Regions from separate parts of the Homo sapiens genome. Here region 2 is linked to region 1. Evidence: promoter capture Hi-C in 16 types of primary human blood cells and fetal thymus (Javierre and others, 2016). All regions are on one chromosome and are shown on one strand. The core of a region is centred on a gene start or on the middle of the fragment in contact, and the rest is flanking DNA. Distances in the headings are between cores, read along the strand shown. Region 1 holds the start of SRRM3 (serine/arginine repetitive matrix 3). Region 2 overlaps HIP1 (huntingtin interacting protein 1).

Region 1 (2,859 bases), core at 1-2,500:
TGTTGTTTTTGTTTTTTTGTTTTGTTTTTGTTTTTGAGACAAATTGAGGCTCTGTCACCTAGGATGGAGTGCAATGGAGCAATCTTGGTTCACTGCAACCTTCGCTTCTCAGGCTCAAGCCTTCCTCCCACTTCAGCCTCCCAAGTAGCTGGGACCACAGGTGCATGCATGCCACCACATCTGGCAAATTTTTGTATTTTTCATAGAGACAGGGTTTCCTCATGTTGGCCTGGCTGGTCTCAAACTCCTGAGCTCAGTGATTTCCCACCTCAGCCTCCTAAAATGTTAGGATTACAGATGTGAGCCACTGCATCCAGCCAAAATTTTAAAATTTAAAAAAATAATTTAAAATCTCCTGTCTCCATTAGGATGTCTCTCACACTACACCCTCCTTTTTTTTTTTTTAAATTTTTGAGATGGTGTCAAAAAATGACAGCCTCTGTCATTCAGGCTGGAGTGCAGTGGCGCCACCATAGGTCACTGCAGCCTCAAATTCCTGGGCTCCAGCGATCCTCCCACCTCACCTCCCTGGTGCCTTTTATTTTATTTTATTTTATTTTATTTTTGACCCTAAGTCTTGCTCTTGTCGCCCAGTCTGGAGTGCAATGGTGCGATCTTGGCTCACTGCAACTCCGCCTCCCAGATTCAAGCGATTCTCCTGCCTCAGCCTCCCAAGTAGCTGAGTAGTTGGGATTACAGGTGCCTGCGACCACGCCTGGCTAATTTTTGTATTTTTAGTAGAGACTGGGTTTCACCATGTTGGCCAGGCTGGTCTCGAATTCCTGGCCTCAAGTGATCCTCCCGCCTCAGTCTCCCAAAGTGCTGGGATTATAGGCGTGAGCCACCGCGCCCAGCCCCTGGTGCCTTCTTTAACACTGGGTGGGAAGAGAGTGTCCTGGCGAGGCCTCTGCACACCGACTGCATTTCCCAGATCCAAACTAATAACCTCCCTTGCCCCAGGCGCCTTCCAGGGCTGACATGCCTCCTCTCGCAAGTGGGGGAAACAGATGTCCCCGGGGGCTGGGGATAGGGGCGGGGGTGTGGGGAGGTGAGGGGCGAGGGGAAGGGGGGGAGGGGGGCGAAGGGGGCGGGGAGGAGGGGGAGCCGGCCGGGAGACGGCCCGGCCCAGCCGCCCGGGCTGTTGCCTCCGCTGCGGGCGTTCCTCCAGGCCTGCGGAGGGCGCTGCGGGCGCGGGGCTGGGCCGCTCTGGCTGGCGGGCGAGCAGAGAGGCGCCTCGGTGGCGGTGCGCTGTCCAGCATTTCAGCAAGCGGCGGCAGCACCCGCGGGGAGGCAGAGGGTGCGGGGCCGTGGGGGCCGCGGAGCTGCCCTGCCCAACTCAGCCCAGACTAGGCGGCAGCCCGGACCGGCGGGACCCGAGGGCCTGGCCCCAGCGCCCGGTAGATCGCGGCGGTCAGCGGTGAGGTGAGAGCGCCTGTGGGGCGGGGGCATATCCCCGAGGGGCTGGGGCTGGGTGGAAGCTCGGGCCTCCCCAGCACCCCCGTGGTCTGCAGGCTCCCCCGAGCAGAGGGGCAGTGTGGGAGGTCGGCGAGGGCGTCTGTCCGGGGGTGCCAGGCGCCCGGGGAGCAGAGATGAGGAACATTCATTTCACTGAGAGGGATGGAGACAGTGGAGACCTTTGGGGTCATGGGCAGGACTCCCCTGGGCATAAATGACCATGGCCTAGTCCATGAGGGTGCCAGGGAGGCCCCCCAACCGCAGTCCCACTGAGGAGAAGGACCTGCTCCCCAGGGAAGGGAGGACCGATGCAGTAACCCTGTGGAGATGCTGGTCACTGGCCCTGGTGAAGGGAGCAGGCCCCCACCTGGATGCTGGGCCTCTGTCCAGCAGGAGGTGCCGGCCCAGGGGACAGCCTGGCCCCTTTCCCGGCTACCCAAATGCCCCTAGGGAGGCAGGAGCTGGCAAGGAGAACTGGGTCTCACAGGATGGCATTTACTCTTGCACTGGGAAGAGGATGGAGGACACAGAAGAGAAAATAGCTACTAGGAATTTGGGAGGGGGTTCTCTGTGCACACCCCCCACCCCAACCACGGACGCCCAGAGAGAGTTTCTAGCCCAGAGTTAGACCTGCGCCAGAGTGAATTCCTGGTAAAGAAGAGAGCTGAGAAAAGACGCAGCCTCTGCCTTGCCTCCGCCTCCCCCTCCCTCCCAGGGCTCCTGCCTGGACAGTGTTGAAGCCTCCTGCAGTTCCTACTCCTGACAGCAGATCCATTGTGGGGAGAGATTTAGTGGGAGGAAGGGAAGGTTGTACCAAGGTCTGACGTGGTACTTCAATGCCTGTGCCCTATCCCAGCCATAACTTCTCGCTGTCCTAAGACCTCACTCACCCTAGCATCGGGGGCTTGAGCTGGTCTTTTGTCCCATGGCAAGAGAAAAGGCAGGTGCTGGGCTTTGACGGAGAGACGTGCACAAGTTCCTCTGTCCAGGGAGCATCTTAAGGTCATGGCCCCAGTTTGTGCCAGCTTCTTCCTCAGTCAAAAATAGGACCCAGCTGGCTAGGAAATTGTTCCCACACAGCAGTAGCTTTCTGGTTCCTTAACTTTATGCCCCATCCCACTCTCCTGTGGGGTGGAGGAGGTATTCTTGAAGACTGACTAAAGAGTCAACTGGGTTTTAAGAGGTAGGGGTATGTGGGTTGGGAGTCATGGACTCTGATGTCAGAAAGACATGGGATCAAATCTAGGTTATGTGACCTCAGGTAAGCCATTGACCTTTCTGAGTCTGTTTTCAATCTGTAAAACAGGTGTAGTGTTAGCAATGTCTACTTTGCTGTTGAAAGAAATAATCTGGATAAGGAGATGGGAGACTACTTTTACGGTATAAAATGCTGGGTGAGTGTTA
Region 2 (3,220 bases), core at 249-2,748, 510 kb before region 1:
GATTACAGGCACCCGCCACCACGCCCGGCTAATTTTTGTATTTTTAGTAGAGACGGGTTTTTCCCATGTTGGCCAGGCTGGTTTTGAACTCCTGACCTCAGGTGATCTGCCCACCTCGGCCTCCCAAAGTGCTGGGATTACAGGCATGAGCCACTGCGCCCGGCCTGTCAGTTTTCTCTACCACAAATAGCTTATTCTGCCTGTGGCCTTTTTTTGTTGTTGTTGTTCTGTTTTGAGACGGAGTCTCTGTCGCCTAGGCTGGAGTACAGTGGCGTGATCTTGGCTCACTACAACCTCCACTTCTCAGGCTCAAGCAATTCTTGTGCCTCAGCCTCCCTAGTAGCTGGGATTACGGGTGTGTGCCACCACACCTGGCTAATTTTTGTATTTTTAGTAGAGAGAGTGTTTTTTGGCCAGGCTGGTCTTGAACTCCTGGCCTCAAGTAATCCACCTGCCTCGGCCTCCCAAAGTACCGGGATTACAGGCGTGAGCCACTGCACCCGGCCCCAGCCTGTGGCCTTTTTATGTACAATGGCATCTTTTATTGACAAGGTTGTCAATTTTATCAACATCTTCCTTTATTTATATGCTTTTGGTGTCTTAAGAATTTTTTTCCCTATTGAAACTAAGATCATAAAGATATTCTCTCGTATTTTTTTTGAAAAGTTTAAAAGCTTTGGTTTTCGCAGTTAGGCCTTTAATACACTCGGAATTTATTTGTAGTTAAGGCATAAAGTAATATTCTAATTTTATTTCTCCCTGTGCAGAACCAGTTGCTCTAGCGTCATGTATTGAAGAATTCCTCTTAGCTGGGGTTCCCATGGAAGCAGACTCTGAGACAAGGATGTCAGCGCAGGGAGCTTATTTGGTATTTGGGAAGGGCCCTGGAAAATGCTGGAAGGAGATAAGGAAGGAGAGAGAGGGATTTTCTTATCAACTGATGACCATTTATTTTCCTTCTCTTTTCTCATTTTTTTTTTGTTGTTGTTTGTTTTTGAGACAGAGTTTCACTCTTTTGTCCAGGCTGGAGTGCACTGGTGCAATCCTGGCTCACTGCAGCCTTGACCTCCTGGGCTCAAGCCATCCTCCCCTCTTAGCCTCCCAAGTGGCTGGGACTACAGTGCAGGTGCATGCTGCTACACCTGGTATTATTTTAGTTCTTTTTTTTTTTTTTTTTTTTTTTGTAGGTACAGGGTCTTGTATGTTGCCCAGGCTGGCTTCAAATTCCTGGACTCAAATGATCCTCCACCCTCAGCCTCCCAAAGTGCTGGGATTCCAGGCATGAGCCACTACTCCCAGCCTGATGAGCTTTGCTATGTGTCTAAAAGGAAATTTGTTTTCTTTATCGAGCATTTCTGGTATTTGTGGCAGCAGGATTTTCTGTTCTGGTCTCTGAAGTTCATTAAGGAGAAAAGAGAAACAAATGGACATTTGTACAGCACTTGACAGTTTACAAAACATCCCTAATGAAAGGTAGTGGAACTTGGGTCGAATCCTCGACCACTCTGAGGCTGTTACCGAAAGTCTCAGGCAGCCCCTGGCCTTCCCTCCAGGAGTCTAGAGGCACCTCCCAGAAGCAGGAGCCAATCCCTGTGGCTGGCCCCCAGTACCTTTCTCATGTCTGAACTTTTTACAATAACTTCCCAGTTTATCTCCTTGCTGGTCTCTCTTGTTGCCACCTCTTCTTTATCCTGCTGTGAATATCTATTTTTCTAAAACACATCTGGGCCGGGCACGGTGGCTCATGCCTGTAATCTCATCACTTTGGGAGGCCAAGGCGGGAGGATCACCTGAGGTCAGGAGTTCGAGACCAGCCTTGGCAACATGGCGAAACCCCATCTCTACTAAGAATACAAAATTAGCCAGGCTTGGTGGCGGGCACCTGTAATCCCAGCTACATGGGAGGCTGAGGCAGGAGTATTGCTTGAACCCAGGAGGCAGAGGTTGCAGTGAGCCGAGATGGCGCCATTGCACTCCAGCCTGGGAGACAAGAGCGGAACTCCGTCTCAAACAAAACAAAACAAAACAATCAAACAAAAAACTCATCTGGCTCTTGCCAGTCTCTCCACCTTTAAAGTCTCTTATGACCCACAAGCTGGGCCCAACCTTCCTTCCCAGCCTCCTTTCCATGGTGCCTTCCTCTCTTCCCAGCCCCTACTCCTGAACCCTCCGTGTTCCCAGAACCTGGCTGTCTCCCATGCCTCCAGGCCTTTCCATGTGATGTTTTCACTGCTGAATTTTCTCTCTGGAGCGCTGGATTTTCTCTCTTGAGTCCTGGGCTGTAAGAGTTCTTCCAGGCTAGCCCATGTGGTACCACTTTTGTAAGCTTATCCTCCCCAACTAGAAAGAGGCCTCCTGTCCCCCTGAAGGCCACTTACCATCCCCTCCACACCTCAGCCACTAAACTCAGTCTACTTGTTAGTTAGGAGTCTCTCTCCTCCACTAAACTGAGGGCAAAGACTGTGGTTCTTCCCTCATCCTGGATGCAACACAGCACCTGCCCACACCACCAACACCCCTCCGTGGGCCACAATCCGGGAGGTGGGACCGCCCTTGTGAAGCCACCAGGGGTTCCTCCCCTGGGGCAGGGCAGGAGCTTGCAGAGCTGTTGGGTGGAGGGAAAGGGAGACTCCTCACCACACACGCAGAAGTCCCTCAGCCCTACAATGAGAGCCAAGGAAGAACGGCCGGGGGCGCGCCGGGTCCGGGCTCCCAGGGGAGTCCATCATGCTGCGTCTGCAGGGGGTGGGGGGGATGAGCTGTCGGTGGAGCCCCTCGACGGGTGGGGGACGGGCAGGCAGCCAAGCGCACAAGTGCAGCCCGGCTGACAGGAAGCCGCACTAAGGGGAGATCTGCTTGGGCATCCAGGACACAAAGCCCCACCTGTCAGGCCCCCCACGCACACCCTCCACCCGCCGTCCGGGTCTGGCCCCGAGCCCACCACCAGCAGCTGCCTACTCCCTTCCTCCCTCCCTCGGTGGCCTTTGGTCCTCTCCCGGGACAGCTGCACCAAACCAGCAGGTGGGAGGTTGTTTGCACGGGCCTCCCAGCTCTGCCCCCCAACAGCCAGCTTCAAATTCCAGAGCCTCCCCAGGAACCAGCAGCAGAGAGTGGCCCCGTGGCCCCGGCGTGTCCCTGACTTGGGTGACAAGCAGAGCAGCAGTGCTTCCTACTGACCAGCTGACCGGGGCTTTCATCAAGGCCCCCTTTGTCCTCTGAG

The links. The method cuts DNA at HindIII sites, captures the fragments that hold promoters and counts their contacts. A CHiCAGO score of 5 or more calls a contact.
Region 2: a contact is called between a fragment that was not itself captured here and the fragment with the promoter of SRRM3 in region 1, in 4 of 17 cell types (megakaryocytes, erythroblasts, M2 macrophages and 1 more). The highest score is 7.1, in megakaryocytes.

The regions. Positions count from the first base shown.
Region 1 is chr7:76,200,646-76,203,504 of GRCh38, forward strand. SRRM3 (serine/arginine repetitive matrix 3) reads left to right here and starts at 1,251. Exons shown (of 15, transcript NM_001110199.3): 1 at 1,251-1,422. RefSeq lists a silencer at 1,098-1,337. The HindIII fragment of the contact is 9,812 bases long and covers 1-2,859 here.
Region 2 is chr7:75,685,684-75,688,903 of GRCh38, forward strand. The region is part of intron 1 of HIP1 (huntingtin interacting protein 1); the gene reads right to left. Among named protein-coding and RNA genes, the nearest start is that of HIP1, 52 kb to the right of the region's middle. The HindIII fragment of the contact is 1,652 bases long and covers 673-2,324 here.